3 separate regions of the Homo sapiens genome follow, and regions 2 and 3 are each linked to region 1. The links are contacts of gene promoters, found by promoter capture Hi-C in human tissues and cell types (Jung and others, 2019). All regions are on one chromosome and are shown on one strand. Each heading gives the region's core, a stretch centred on a gene start or on the middle of the fragment in contact. The rest is flanking DNA. Distances are from core to core; before and after follow the strand shown.

Region 1 (5,106 bases), core at 1,329-3,828:
CTAGGTATGGTGCCCGAAGTCAAACAGCCACTGAGCATGTAAACCCAGGTGGGTCTGACCCCAAACCCCTCCACCCCCATCAGCCCTGCAACCCGTCGCTGCAAGGGAGAAAGCAACTCAGAGGCCTCACCTGCCTACATCCCCCACCCGTGTGTGTGAGTTCTACTAAATGCCTGAGCAGTGACACAGCACGGCTGAAATTAAACGGGTTCCAAAAACGACAGGAAGCACGAGGTGAATCTCCCCAGGAAAGTGCTGAACAAATGCTGGATCGGGTTCACCGGCGAATTTCTTGGAACTGAAGAGGGGAGCTAAACACACGGGGCCCTGCTTTGGAGGGGACTCTCTCAGGGTGCTCCACACAGCACTTGGTTAACCCCACTCAGCCCTTCTGGGCTCTCCCAGAGGGCCCGGCCTTGGCCTTGGGCATCTACAGGAGGAACCTCCAGGGGGAGAGGGGGTGCCTGGACAGGCCGGCCCTGGAACAAGCACTTGGGCCCCGAGGAGAGAGGACTAGGGCTTGGGAGCTGGGGAAGTTCTCAGCACTGGGACCACTAGAACAAAGCCATTTCCGTGCGTTCACAGCTTCCAATTGCAACAGGAAGCAATCAGGAAAAATAATTAGCGGCCCACTTACTGGCTTCGCTGAGGTCCGAGGCATGTATTTCACACAGTAAAACCAGGGATATAACATCAAAACCGTTCTGCAGAAAGATTCCTCCCTTTCCTTCCATTTTAGGCCTGGATCACCACATTCACTGGGGCTCCCAGGCCTTGCTGCCTAATGTTAAAATAATCAACTCTATTTTTGCCTCACACACAACTGAACTCTACAGCTATAATTCTTTCTCCTCAGGGGCTCGAACCACATGGACGACAGGCATTTGACTCCAGCAACATCACCCCAAAACGTGCACAAAACCCAAAACTGCAATGAGGTGAAAGGCAACGCGGTCGGCCTAGAAACCCCCCCTTTAAAACAAACAGTTTCCCCAAAACCCCTTTTGCCTCCTTGACCCAGGCATTTCCGGAAAAAGGAGCGGCGCTGGCCTGTACTCCCCAGATACTGTCGCTGTTTTGTCTTCACCTTGTTTTGCTAGCTCCAGACAAGGCCCCACAATGTAAACACGCTCCTGAAAGAGGCAGATTTGGGGTGAAACTGTCCATAGAATCTCTAGGCTTGGGTCAGAGGCAGGAGGACGTGAAACAAACTCCAAGCTCCTCCTGTTCCCCGCTGTCCCCCACACCTCCAAGCAGAGGCTGCAGCCTGGGGGATCTGACTACAGGGCCACCCCGCTGCACCATTCACACTGGAAATATTCAGGGAGACAGCTGTTTGCCTTAAGGAGGCCCAGACAAAGGGGCCCGAGGTCCTCCCCGCTAAACTGCCACAAACAGAACAGGAGCCGCGGCGTGCACAGGCACTTGCGGCCGTGCCACTTGGCCAGCCATACTCCAGAAAAACAAAACACGCACATCCGAAGAGAATGATTTAGGTAGCAAGAGGCTTGCTTGAAAAACCACATGGCAATCTCCAAATTAAAAGAACATGTGTAGCGTTTCACGACTGCTTAAGTTTCCTGAGTCCTCCTGACCTCAACTCCACCCCCTGGGAAACACCAAAAGTTGGAGAGAAAGTTCCCCCGCCCTACCTCTCCCCACGGGAGTGTACAACTGAGGCACAAGCCTGCCTCCCCCACTGCCCCGCGATCTGGGACCACGTCACCTCCGCGTAGCCGACCCGGGGATGGACACTATCTGGGGACCCGGCGGCCACACGGGGCATTCGGGTCGCCCGGGCACCTGGCAGGTGTCAGTCCGCTTGGAAACCCACAGCCACGCGGCTCACAGGAGCAGCGCCACCGGCCAGGCCGCCCCGCGCCCGGGCTCAGAACTTTCTCGCTGCAACTTCAGCCCGTCCTCGGAGCACGCGGGGCGGCCGCGCGGCCGCTGGAAACAGGCTTGCGAACCGGCTCCCCGGGCCAGGCCCGCCTCCGCGCCCCAAGTCCCCGCTCGGTGCCCGGCCCGGGCCACACGGGCCCAGCGCGGGCTCGGCTCGGCTCCCGGCTTCCCGCGGGCTCGGGCAGGTGAGGACCCGCCCGCGCCGCACCTGGCGGAGCGGGCGCCCTCCTCGCCAGCCCGGGACGCAGCGTCCCCGGGGAGGGCCCGGGTGGGGAGACAAAGGGCCCGCGCGTGGCGGGGACGCCGGGGACGGCAGGGGGATCCCGGGCGCGCGCCCCAACTCGCTCCCAACTCGCCAAGTCGCTTCCGAGACGGCGGCGGCGCCCGCGCACTTGGCCGCGGGGCCGCCCGGGCCATTGTCCGAGCAACCCGCGGCCCCCGGCCGGCCTGCGCCCACCTACCCGCGGCGGGGGCCGGGCAGCCGCACAGCGCCAGCAGCAGCAGCAGCAGCAGCAGCAGCGGCCACGGCGGCCCGGGCGGCGCTGCCTCCATGTTGTCCGGCGGCCGGACGGGCCCGCGCCGCGCTCACTCGGGCTCCATGGCGCGGCGGCGGCGGCTCCTCGCGCGGCTCCCGGCGCCTCCGCCTCCCCCCTCGGGCGCCGCGGACCAGGACGACGGGGAGGAGGGAGCTGGGCGCGCGGGAGCGGAAGCCGCGCCGCGTCTCCGCCCCCCGCCGCCGCCACCCGCGCCCCCCGCACCGGCCGCGCCCTCCCGCGGGCGCCCCCCGGAGCCGGCCGGCGGCCAGGCGGCCCCAGCGGCGCAGGTCCCCGCGGCCCCTCCCCGCGCTCCCCGCCCTGCCCTGGAGGTGCCTCCGGGAGGCTTGGCGCGGGGTTTCCGCCCCGCGGGGCCCGGCGGCCGATCGGGGCCCGGAGCCAGGTGTGTCACCTGTGGAGCCTCTATGAGTGGGGAAACTGAGGCACGGAGCAGGGCGGGGTTGCCCAAGGGCACACAGCGAGGCAGTTTCAGGGCGGGCAGCCTGGGGCCCCACGGGGCGGCCCCGGACACTTGTTCTCACCTGTGGAGGGCAGAGAAGGGAACAGGGAGAGAAGTGGCCGGCTGGGAGTGGAGGTGGGTTTGAGGTTTTACTGTAAACTAAATGTGTACCCTCTACCTTAGTTATGAATTATGAGACACGAAGACTGCGAAACAGACACACTCCTCTAAAAGTGCCTCTAGGCTGACAGGGAGAAAGTCCCGCCAGGCTCCCAGACGCCACCTTTGAGTCCTTCAACAAGCCCGCCAGGGCCTCTTGCCCACCGGTGTCAGCTCAGCCACTGAACCCTCCAGGAAGAAGACGTGCTGGTAGGAGAAGAATCTCACCCAGGCACAGCCTGGAAGGGGCACAGAAGGGGCTCTGGAACCAGCAAGCCCAAGTTGGAACTCCCAGTCTGCTACTTTCTAGAACGACTGTGCCCTTGGCGGGTCTAAGTAGAACCTCTCCGCGCACTCTTTCCTCCTTTGTAAAGTGGGGACAGCAATGGCCACCTTGCAGGTTCAGAGAGGGCTTGCAGTACCTCACAGAACTGAGTGCCCGTGAACGTGTGTGTTCCTCCAGATTTGTGACAGCTTTGCCAGGCTGGAGTCAGGCTGAACGCCTCTGCCCTCATGGGGTTTATATTCTAGGAAGACCAACAAAAACAAGAAGACGGAAAATTAAAACAACAAAAGCCCCATTGACAGGCCATGAAGAATGCCATGAGAAATGAAGGGCGTTGTGCTGCAGTGTTTGGGGAAACTGGCTTAGGGAAGGAAGGACACTTGAGCTGCTACCAAGGAGCAGCCGTCCGGTGGGAGGGCAGTTCAGGAAGAGCAGACATCCACGGAGGAGGCGCTGGGGCAGAGGGCAGCCTGGTCGCTGGATTCGGGGGAGGAACCACATCAGGCCATGAGCTGGAGCTGGTGGTAGAAGGTACAGGAGAGGCCAGCCAGGGCCAGCACATGTCAGACCTCAGGCGGGGAAGAGGAATCGAGAATGCACCCCACGAGCAATGGGAAGCCAGGCTAGGATTTAAGCAGCAAAAATATTTTCCCTTCTTCCACCCTGCATCCAGCTCTACCAGCACAGCCTGGGGTTCTATTTTCAAGATAGAAGAGACCCAGACTCCCAGCTCTTCTTACACTTCTACTACTGCCACCTGTCACCCACTCATGCGTCCCCACTTGCAGCCTCGACCCCCTTCCACCTGATCTCATGGCAGCCAGGGAAGCTCCAGGGCTCGTGAGGGCTGCCATCTCAGGAAAGAAGCAAAAGCCTTCGGCACCTGCAGGGCCTGCTCCAACCACACTTCTTCCTTGACCTCTCAGCTTCCTTAGCCACTCCCTTCCCACATCTCACCCTGCTCCAGCCACAGTGGTGTCTCTGTGGGTTCTCAAACACACCAGGTGCACTCCTGCCTCAGGGCCTTTGTGCTTGCTGTTCTCTGCTGGGACTCTTTTTTTTTTTTTTTTTTTTGAGACAGGGTCTCACTCTGTGGCCCAGGCTGGAGTGTAGTGGTGTGATCGTAGCTCATTGCAACCTCAAACTCCTGGGCTCAAGCAATCCTCCCACCTCAGCCTCTCAAGTAGTTAGCTTTTGTTGTTTTGTTTTGAGATGGGATCTCACTCTGTTGCCCAGGCTGGAGTGCAGTGGGGCAATCTTGGCTCACCACAACCTCTGCCTCCCAGGCTCAAGCAATTCTCCTGCCTCAGCCTCCCAAGTAGCTGGGATTACAGGCATGTGCCACCACGCCCAGCTTATTTTTGTATTTTTAGTAGAGACAGGGTTTCACCATGTTGGTCTGGCTGGTCTTGAACTCCTGGCCTCAGATGATCCACCTGCCTCGGCCTCCCAAAGTGCTGGGATGACAGGCATGAGCCTGTCTCTAGTAGTTAGGACTACAGAGAGGGGCCATCATGCCTGGTGATCCTCCCACCTTTTCTGCTCCAACTCTTTCACCCCACTTAGCCTCGTGGCTCACTCTCTTACCTCTTCAGCTCCTCAGTCAGGCCTGAGGACCCCTGTTGAAAATTGCAAACCACACCCCCCACCACCACCACCCACTATTGCCAGCACTTTCTACTCCATTTCTCTGCTTTACTTTTCTCCTTTGTACTCATCACCACCTGACTCATTACATGTTTACGTATCTTTCTTCTCTCCACTAG
Region 2 (5,106 bases), core at 1,348-3,847, 100 kb after region 1:
GGCCATCTTCTAGGGCCGTATGTCAAATGATGACTGCTGTATAGAAGTGTAATTTTAGGAATAGTTGAAGGACCATGGAATAAGAATCAATTCTTATTCCATTCTCTGCTCTATCACTGTTTGTATAAGTCATTGATAGGGCCTAGACTCCGTCTACAAAACGACTCTGAGGTCACTTCCAATCCAAAATTGTATTAATGCTTCATCTTTTACACTTCACTGCCATCCTATTTTCTCCTAATAATTATTTTAATCATATTTTGACATCTCTCTAATCACCTTAGTTCATCTGCATGTTTCATGTAGTTTTACCTCCTTTTTTTGAAATGTCATTATGAGATAGTTAATCAGTTGGGTTTTAGAATTGAGAGACTAGGGTATCAGTGTCCCCCCCCCCAAAGCTTGATTGGGGGCCTGTATGACTCCTACAATGCCAGTTGCATTTCTATAAGCTGTCTTAGTTTGTCTGTTGTAATAGCACACTAAAGAAAACAGTACCGGCCGGGTACGGTGGCTCACGCCTGTAATCCCAGCACTTTGGGAGGCCGAGGCGGGTGGATCACGAGGTCAGGAATTGAGATCATCTTGGCTAACACGGTGAAACCCCGTCTCTACTAAAAATACAAAAATTAGCCTGTAGTCCCAGCTACTCCGGAGGTTGAGGCAGGAGAATGGTGTGAACCCGGGAGTTGGAGGTTGCAGTGAGCAGAGATGGCTCCACTGCACTCCAGCCTGGGCGACAGAGCAAGACTCCGTCTCTTAAAAAAAAAAAAAAAGGGGGAAAGAAAACAGTACCTAGATCCGGGGATCATTTGCTGGTGATAAACCTCTAGGTGGTACACGTGGCTCAAGCACTGGAGTAAACCCCAGACTGCAGTTTAAAGATGAAGGTTTTAGACCCACCCTTACCACTTAGTAGCACTTTGAGTTTAGGAAAGCAATTTGTTTCTGAGCTTTAGCCTCCTTGTTGTAGTGCTAATACCTGTTTCACCTGATAGGGTTGCTGAGCTAGCGAATCCCGAGTCCTGCATGTTAGGGGAACCAGTAGAAACCGAATGTGTGTGTTGTGACACCTGTGTTTCTACCTTGTGCCACCTTTATAGGAATGCCTGGTCAGCACATCTCTAATGGCACTCGGCTTGCTTCTCAGGCCTTACGCAAAAGGCCCATTCAGTGAAGGGTCATTCTGCTTCCTAGTCTGTACTTTTCTACCCTGTTAACTTTTTTTCCCCTTATGCATCTGTTTGGTTTTCTTCCCTGACTCAACGACTGATTTTCCTGAAAGTAGAAGCTCTCATACGCCCTCTAGTGTTCCCTGGACATGACCAGTATTCCAGCACCACGAACAGTGCCTGGCAGCTCTGGGAGGTTCTTCATAAGTTTGTTGAACTGAGTGGATTCTAGGTCGGCCCGATGAATTGTTTTGCCTGTCTGATTTGTATAACACGGTTGAAATGTATGATACATTTTAATGGTCTCTGAGGAGTATTTTTATTTTCGAGGCAATGTTTATGTTGCATCATATGGAGAAATAGATATTTTTAGTAAGAAAACCAATCTGATTTTAGGAAGCTGCAGCTTTCCTCACTGAGAAGTAAAAGGGGGCTTGATCCTTCAGCCAGTGAGCCAGTGGCACCATAGGAAACCCCCCTTCACTTTCCCCCTTGGAAAGGAAACAAAACCAGACGTCATTCAGGGTCCTGGAGGGTTTAAAGCAAATATTTGTTTGGTGCATATAAATAAGTACCAGGAGGGCTTTTGACCCAAAAAAGGTATTTTTTGTTTGTTTGTTTTTGAGACAGGGTCTTGTAGCCTCCCAGGCTGGAGAGCAGTGGCATAATCCCAGTTCACTGCAGCCTTAGTCTCCTGGGCCCAAGCAATCATCTCGCCTTGGCCTCCCAAAGTGCTGGGATTATAGGATGAGCTGCCATGTCTGGTCTTGTTTTTATATTTACAATTTTGATTTATATTTCCCTGATCATCCCATCTCAAGTCCATTCTTACATTAGTCTCTCTCCTAACATCCTGTTTGTTTTTCTTACAGCTCGCATCAGATTGATAACCACATACTTACTTACATCTCTTCCCATAGTATGCTCTGACCTCTATGCAGTCAGGAACGATGTCTATTTTGCTCTAGAGTTTTACTCTTCAAATATGGGGCACAGTGGTTTTTTTGTTTGTTTGTTTGGAGACAGAGTCTCACTCTGTTGCCCAGGCTGGAGTGCAGTGGCGCGATCTTGGCTCATTGCAACCTCCACCTCCCAGGTCCCGGTTCATGCAATTCTCCTGCCTCAGCCTCCCGAGTAGCTGGGATTACAGCCACATGCCACCACGCCTAGCTAACTTTTGTATTTTTAGTAGAGACGGGGTTTCACCATGTTGGCCAGGCTGGTCTTGAACTCCTGACCTCGTGACCCTCCCGCCTCGGCCTCCTAAAGTGCTGGGATTACAGGCGTGAGCCACCGTGCCTGGCTTGGGCGAAGTGTGTTTAAAAATTTGTTTGGGGCCAGGCGTGATGGCTCACGCCTGTAACCTCAGCACTTTGGGAGGCCGAGACAGGTGAATCACGTGGTCAGGAGTTCAAGACCATCCTGGCCAACATGGTGAAACGCTGTCTCTACTGAAAATACAAAAATTAGCTGGGCGTGGTGGTGGGCACCTGTAATTCCTGCTACTCGGGAGGCTGAGACAGAGAATTCCTTGAACCTGGGAGGCAGAGGTTGCAGTGAGCAGAGATCGTGCCACTGCACTCCAGCCTGGGCAATAGAGCGAGACAGCGTCTAAAAAAATAAAAAATTTGTTTGGGTCATTATTCTGTGTTGTTTTTTGGTTTGTTTTTTTTTTTTTTTTGAGATGGAGTCTCACTCTGTTGCCCAAGCTGGAGTGCAGTGGCACGATCTTGGTTCACCACAACCTCTGCCTCCTGGGTTCAAGCGATTCTCCTGCCTCAGCCTCCCGAGTAGCTGGGACTACGGGCAGGTGCCACCATGCCTGGCTAATTTTTGTATTTTTAGTAGAAATGGATTTTCACTATGTTCGCCAGGCTGGTCTCGAATTCTTGACCTCGTGATCCGCCCACCTCGGCCTCCCAAAGTGCTGGGATTACAGGCGTGAGCCACCGTGCCTGGCCTGTGTTGCTTTTTTGTGTGATATTAACAGTACACAGTCTCTCAGCCTGGACTTCACTTCAGTTTTTTTTCTAATTCTCTGAGTTTTGTTCTCATTTGTAAAATGGGGATGATAGTATTGAGTGTGTGTTAAAGGGCAGTGATGTTTGTATCTTCTTTTATAGGGTGTGAAAATAATCTGTTTGACCAGGTACACCACAAACTAAACTGTGTTGTAAGAAGCTCTGTAGTCCAGTCTGTGGTCCCTCTGAATGTTTAGGATGGGAGATGTAGCTTGGCATGATTTTTTTTTTTTTTTTGAAACGGAGTCTCGCTCTGTCGCCGAGGCTGGAGTGCAGTGGCGCAATCTTGGCTCACTGCAAGCTCCGCCTCCCAGGTTCACACCATTCTCCTGCCTCAGCCGCCACCATGCCCGGCTAATTTTTTGTATTTTTAGTGGAGACGGGGTTTCACCGTGTTAGCCAGGATGGTCTCGATCTCCTGACCTCGTGATCCGCCCGCCTCAGCCTCCCAAAGTGCTGGGATTACAGACGTGAGCCACTGTGCCCTGCTGCTTGGCATGATTTTTAATCATGCGTGTTGCAGCCAGAAGTTACATTCCTTCTCTTTGGGAACTGTAGGGAAAGCAGAACTGGTGCTCAGCCTTGTGTCATAATTATTCTTTTGCACATTTGTTCTTTTTTAAATGGGTGAGGTGATGAGATTTTTTTTTTCATGTGTGAGTTATGGTGGGGAATAGAAGGGAAATTTCTACTTGATTAAAGTTTTGTGAAGAATGTTTCTGGCCTGCTTTACTTTTGCCTTAGTTACTTGGAAGGGGAGACCTTAATTTGTTAGCAGTTTGTGCTCATTTAAAATATCTTGTGCCAAACCTAGGGAGGCCTTCTTTTCATTGTACTGGTGGGGCATCGGTGAAGTTAAATAACTCGTCTGCTCACACTGCTGGGGTAAGGATGAAGCTAGGGTGGGACAGGTGCTTTGACTGCAGAGCCACATCCTTAATCCCTGTGCGGGCTGCCTCTGCAAAGCCCACCAGCTGGCAAACTCAAAGTGGCCTCTAACGTCCAGCCCAAGAACCACCTTTTGGAAGCTTTTCCTCACACTTGTCCTTGCCCAGTAAAAATCTTTGATGTACTTCTTGTAACTTCTGACAGAAACTGTGGGCTGTAAAGGCTGTACTTACAGTCATTTGACACTAGGTGGCATCTGTTTCTAGAACCGTGAATGGCTGTTTGAGTCCTAGAGAAAACAGTAACAAAGAAAGCATCCTTGATTTTATTTCTAGGCACTGCTAGGTAAGCAGATGGATCAAATGTGGAGAGATGGGGGAAGCAGGCATTTTTTGTTTTCTTCTGGAAGTTTTTTTGAGGACTTTCCCTCAACAACCCCATCAGTGAAAACCTTTGTTTTAAAATAACTACTGAGATGAAGACATGAAGTCTTTCTTACATGACATCCCTCGTCGTAAATACGTATTGAATGTGATATTTAAGAATGAAGCAGTATTTTCTGTGATAAGGCAATTAGGAGTTTCTTACATGTCTGGCTGTAGATCAGTAGCCAAATAAGTAAGTCTAAGAATTGCGAACGTCTGGCCGGGCGCGGTGGCTCACGCCTGTAATCCCAGCACTTTGGGAGGCCGAGGTGGGTGGATCTCGAGGTCAGGAGATTGAGACCATCCTGCCTAACACGGTGAAACCCTGTCTGTACTAAAAATACAAAAAGTTAGCTAATTGTGGTGGCGGGTGTCTGTAGTCCCAGGTACTCAGGAGGCTGAGGCAGGAGAATGGCTTGAACCCGGGAGGTGGAGCTTGCAGTGAGCTGAGATCATGCCACTGCACTCCAGCCTGGTGGACAGAGTGAGACTCCGTCTGAAAAAAAAAAAAAAAGAATTGCGAATGTCTGATCATAAACTTACCAGTAGTGGATAGTTTGCTCCTTAAAATGTTTTGCTCAATGAGAAATTCTAATAGTT
Region 3 (5,106 bases), core at 1,735-4,234, 82 kb after region 1:
TCTGGGAGGACGAAGCAGGAGGTTGGCTTGAGCCCAGGAGTTTGAGACAAGCCTGGGCAATATGGCAAAACCCTGTCTCTAACAAACAAACATATAAACAAACAAACAAACAAACAAACAAACAAATTAACTGTGCATTGTGGTGCATACCTGTAGTCCTAGCTAGCTACTTGGGAGGCTGAGGTGGGAGGATCACTTGAGCCCAGGAGTTCAAGGCTACAGTGAGCTATGATCACACCACTGCACCCCAGCCTGGGTGATAAAGTGAGACTCTGTTTCCAAAGAGAGAGAGAGAGAGAGAGAATCAGTGGCTCATGCCTTTGGGAGGGTGAGGCAGAAGAAGAATCACTTGAGCTGAAGAGTTTGAGACCAGCTTGGGCAACATAGTGAGACCTTGTTTCTACAAAAAATAAAATAATTAGTCAGATGTAGATGGCACACACCTATAGTCCCAGCTACTTGGGAAGCTGAGGTGAGAGGATTGCTTGAGCCCAGGAGGTCAAAGCTACAGTGAGCTATGATTGTGCCACTGCACTCCAGCCTAGGTGACAGAGTAAGACCCTGTCTCAAAAATTAAATTCAATTGGCTGGGCACAGTGGCTCACACCTGTAATCCCAGCACTCTGGGACGCCGAGGCGGGTGGATCACCTGAGGTCAGGAGTTCGCGACCAGCTTGGACAACATGGCGAAACCCCATCTTTACTAAAAGTACAAAAATTAGCCAGGTGTGGTGGCACGCGCCCACAGTCCCAGCTACTCAGGAGACTGAGGTAGGAGAATCGCTTGAACCCAGTAGGTGGAGGTTGCAGTGAGCCAAGATCACGCCACTGCACTCCAGCCTGGGTGACACAAAAAGACTCTGTCTCAAAAATAAATAAATAAATAAATAAAATTAAATTAAATATTAAAATTAAGAGAGAGAAGGAGTCACACCAAGACACGTTACAATTAAACTTTTGAGGCCAGGTGCGGCGGCTCATGCCTGTAATCCCAGCATTTTGGGAGGCCAAGGCAGGTGGATCACCTGAGGTCAGGAGTTTGAGACTAGCCTGACCAACATGGAGAAACTCTGTCTCTACTAAAAATAAAAAATTAGCCGGGCATGGTGGAGCATGCCTGTAATTCCAGCTACTCAGGAGGCAGAGGCAGGAGAATTGCTTGAACCTGGGAGGTGGAGGTTGCAGTGAGTCGAGATTCCACCATTGCACTCCAGCCTGGGCAACAAGAGCAAAACTCCTTCTCAAAATAATAATAATAATAATAATTAATAATAATTAAACTTTTGAAAGACAAAGAGAGAATGCTGAAAGTAGCAAGAGAGAAGAGACATGTGACATACCAAGATCTTAAATAAGATTTTCAACAGATTTCTCATTAGAAATTTTTCAGGCCAGAAGACAGTGGGCTGACATTTTCTTTTTTGTTCTTTCTTTTTTTTTGAGACAGAGTCTCGCTCTGTCGCCCAGGCTGGAGTGCAATGGCTTGATCTCGGCTCACTGCAAGCTCCACCTCCCAGGTTCATGCCATTCTCCTGCCTCAGCCTTCTGAGTAGCTGGGAATACAGGCGCCCATTACCACGCCTGGCTAAATTTTTGTATCTTTAGTAGAGATGGGGTTTCACCATGTTAGCCAGGATGGTCTCAATCTCCTGACCTTGTGATCTGCCTGCCTCGGCCTCCCAAGACATTTTCAAACTATTAAAAGAAAAAAAAAAACAGCCGGGCATGGTGACTCACGCCTGTAATCCCAGCACTTTGGGAGGCTGAGGAGGGCAGATCACGAGGTCAAGAGATTGAGACCATCCCGGCCAACATGGCAAAATGCCATCTACTAAAAATACAAAAATTAGCAGGGCTTGGTGGTGTGCACCTGTAATCCCAGCTACCCAGGAGGCTGAGGCAGGAGAATCGCTTGAACCCAGGAGGCAGAGGTTGCAGTGAGCTGAGATCATGTCATTGCACTCCAGCCTGGAGACAGAGTGAGACTCGGTCTCAAAAAAATAAAAAATAAACAAACAAAAACAAAAACAAAAAACCTGTCAACCAAGAATCCTATATTGGATAAAACTGTCTTTCAAAAGTGAAGAATATGTGCTTGGCTGAAAAGCCAATGCAGCAAAGCTTCCATCCGTGAGATTATGACTGAATGCCTCTAAATCAAAACTCCGCCCAGGCAGAAGGCAGAATGATATGATAGCACTGCAGAGCCTTGGTTGGCCTCAGATAGCTGGTCCTTTACCGTGCTGCCAGTGCCTCATCTGGTGCCAGGACCGGAGTCCAGTACAGAGAACTCCTCAACCCGTGAAATGGGGTATGGCCAGAAATGGGCTGTCCCCGCTGGCCCATCATGGAGTGCACATTCACGGAGAACCTGGTACTAAACCATTCATAGACAACCTGCTTCTGGGTCAGGATTTTGTACATAGCAGAGTATCTCCCTCACTGTGATCTATTTAAAGTCAGCCCTCAAGATAAGGGTTTGTAAAAGAAAGGAATCAATAATATAAAATTTTTTGAGACAAGGTCTTGCTGTGTCGCCCAGGTTGTAGTGGAGCGGCATGATCACAGCTCACTACAGCCTCAGCCTCCTGGGCTCAAGTGATCCTCCCATCTCAGCCTCCTGAGGACTACAGCTGGGACTACAGACATGCACCAAGCCCAGCTAATTTTTTTTTTCTTTTTTGTAGAGTGGGGTTTCTCCATGTTGTCCAGGGTGGTCTCCAACTCCTGGGCTCAAGCAATCTGCCCACTTTGGCCTCTCAGAGTGTTAGGATTACAGGCATGAGCCACCATACCCAACCCATAAATAATATTTTTAAGAAGATAAAAGAAAAATATAAGAAAAGCCAAAGGGGCCAGGTACAATAGCTCATACCTATAATCCCAATACTTTGGAGGACAAGGCAGGAAGATCACTTGAGTCCAGGATTTTGAGACCAGCCTGGGCAACATAGTGAGACCCTATCTCTACAAAATCAAAGGTCAGGCGTTGTGATGCATGTTTGTAATCCTAGCTACTCAGGAGGCTGAGGGAGGAGGATTGCTTGAGCCCAGGAGGTTGAGGTTGCAGTGAACTGTGATCATGCTACTGTACTCCATCCTGGGTGACAGAGTGAGGCCCTGTCTCTGAACAAAAAGAAGAAAGAAAAAGAAAAAAAAAGCGAAGAAGAAAACTCAAGAAGTTCATAACCAGTAAACCTGCTCTGCAAGATATGCTTAAGGGAGTCCTGAAGGTGAAACGAAAGGACACTAGATAGTAACATGAAACTGTATGAAGAAGTAAAGATCTCAATAGAGGCAAATATATGTGCAATTATAAAAGCTAGTACTATTGTAACAGTAGGTTGTAAAACTACTTTTGGTTTTCTGCAGAATTTAAGAGACTATTACACTTTAAAAAACAATCAGTATCGGCCGGGTGCAGTGGCTCACATCTGTAATCTCAGCACTTTTGGAGGCCGAGGCAGGCAGATCATCTGAGGTCAGGAGTTCAAGACCAGCCTGGCCAACATGGTAAAATCCTGTCTCTACTAAAAATACAAAAATTAGCCAGGCATGGTGGTGGGTGCCTGTAATCCCAGCTACTTGGGAGGCTAAGGCAGGAAAATCGCTTGAACCTGGGAGGCGGAGGTTTCTGTGAGCCAAGATCGGGCCACTGCACTCCAGCCTGGGTGACAAGAGTGAGACAGACTCCATCTCAAAATAAATAAATAAGTAAATAAAATAAATTAAAAGTCAGTATAATAATAAATTAATTAATTGATTAGTTAAACCAAGAACTAATCCAACGCTAGTATTACTGTAACTGGTTTGTAACTACACATTTTGTTTGCTGTATAATTTAAGACACTAACTTTTTAAAAATCATTGTCAGTTTATGTTTTGGGGCATAGAATGTTTAAAGATATAATTTTATGACATCAACAACCATAAGAAAAAGAGATGGAGCTGTAAAAAGAGCAGAGTTTTTATACGATACTGAAGTTGACCTGGTATAAATTCAAACCAGAGTGTTATAACTTTAGGATGTTGATATGGTTTGGCTGTGTCCCCACCCAAATATCATCTTGAATTGTAGTTCCTACAATCCCCATTTGTCATGGGAGGGGCCTGGTGGAAAGTAATTGAATCATGGGGGTCATTACCTCAAAGTTGCTGTTCTCATGATAGTGAGTGAGTTCTCATGAGATCTGATGGTTTTATAAGGGGACTTTCCCCCTTTTGCTCAGCACTTCTCCTTACTGTTGGCATGTGAAGAAGGACATGTTTGCTTCCCCTTCCACCCATGACTGTAAGTTTCCTGAGGCCTCCCCAGCCATGGTGAAGTGTGAGTCAATTAAGCCTCTTTCCTTTATAAATTACCCAGTCTCGGGTATGTCTTTGTTAGCAGCATGAGAATGGACTAATACAGATGTTAAATGTAATACCCATTGTAATAACAAAGAAAATAGCTGTAGAATATACACAGAAGAAAATGAGAAGAAATTCAAACATTTTTCTATTAAAAAAAAAAACCAAACACACCAAAAAGCTTGTAATGCAGGAAATGAGGTCCAGAAAAGCTAGGAAGCAAACAGAGGACAAATAGCAAAATAACAGCAGTACATCTCTCCTTATGCACTGAGAAGACATCACCCCTGGATATTCTTGCCACAAACGCACAACTTGAATCTACTCACAAGGAAACATCAGATAACACACACAGAAGGACATTCTGCAAGTCAAGACCACAAAAAGCAAAGCAAGACTGAGGCACCAAAAGACAGGACAACTAAACACATCCTGTGATCTTGGACTGGCTGCTGGACTGGGGGAAAAGCATGTATCAAATTATAGTATTGTATTGCTGGTGAGTTTCCAGATTCTGACAACTACAAAAGTGATTATGTAAGAGAACAACCATTTTGGAAATATACACTGAAGTACTCAGGGGTGCAGAGGTGGGGTGTTTCTAACATAACCTCACGATTCAAATCATCTTCATTATTCTTGGATTCTGTATTTGTGGGTTCACCTCTAGCTAAATTTATTTGTAACCCCAAAATCAATACTTGGGCCTTTCTGTGGGTATTTGAAAGCCGGTGCATACACAGAGTGGTGAAAAAT

What was found. Contacts are between HindIII fragments. The study calls those that stand out against the background at their distance.
Region 2: a contact is called between a fragment that was not itself captured here and the fragment with the promoter of LRP5 in region 1, in 2 of the 25 tissues and cell types used here (aorta and lymphoblastoid cells).
Region 3: a contact is called between a fragment that was not itself captured here and the fragment with the promoter of LRP5 in region 1, in 2 of the 25 tissues and cell types used here (IMR-90 fibroblasts and small bowel).

What each region holds. Positions count from the first base shown.
Region 1 is chr11:68,310,063-68,315,168 of GRCh38, reverse strand. LRP5 (LDL receptor related protein 5) reads right to left here and starts at 2,578. Exons shown (of 23, transcript NM_002335.4): 1 at 2,364-2,578. The coding sequence starts at 2,454. It overlaps LOC124900302 (a long non-coding RNA gene), which reads right to left and starts at 1,720. Exons shown (of 2, transcript XR_007062749.1): 1 at 1-1,720. RefSeq lists enhancers at 1-130, 842-1,716, 1,717-2,592 and silencers at 2,014-2,083, 2,094-2,253, 2,444-2,643, 2,664-2,953. The HindIII fragment of the contact is 14,214 bases long and covers 1-5,106 here.
Region 2 is chr11:68,205,538-68,210,643 of GRCh38, reverse strand. All of the region lies in intron 1 of KMT5B (lysine methyltransferase 5B), which reads left to right. Among named protein-coding and RNA genes, the nearest start is that of KMT5B, 5.2 kb to the left of the region's middle. RefSeq lists a silencer at 4,247-4,336. The HindIII fragment of the contact is 5,675 bases long and covers 1-5,106 here.
Region 3 is chr11:68,228,953-68,234,058 of GRCh38, reverse strand. No RefSeq gene overlaps it. Among named protein-coding and RNA genes, the nearest start is that of KMT5B, 18 kb to the right of the region's middle. The HindIII fragment of the contact is 3,922 bases long and covers 1,024-4,945 here.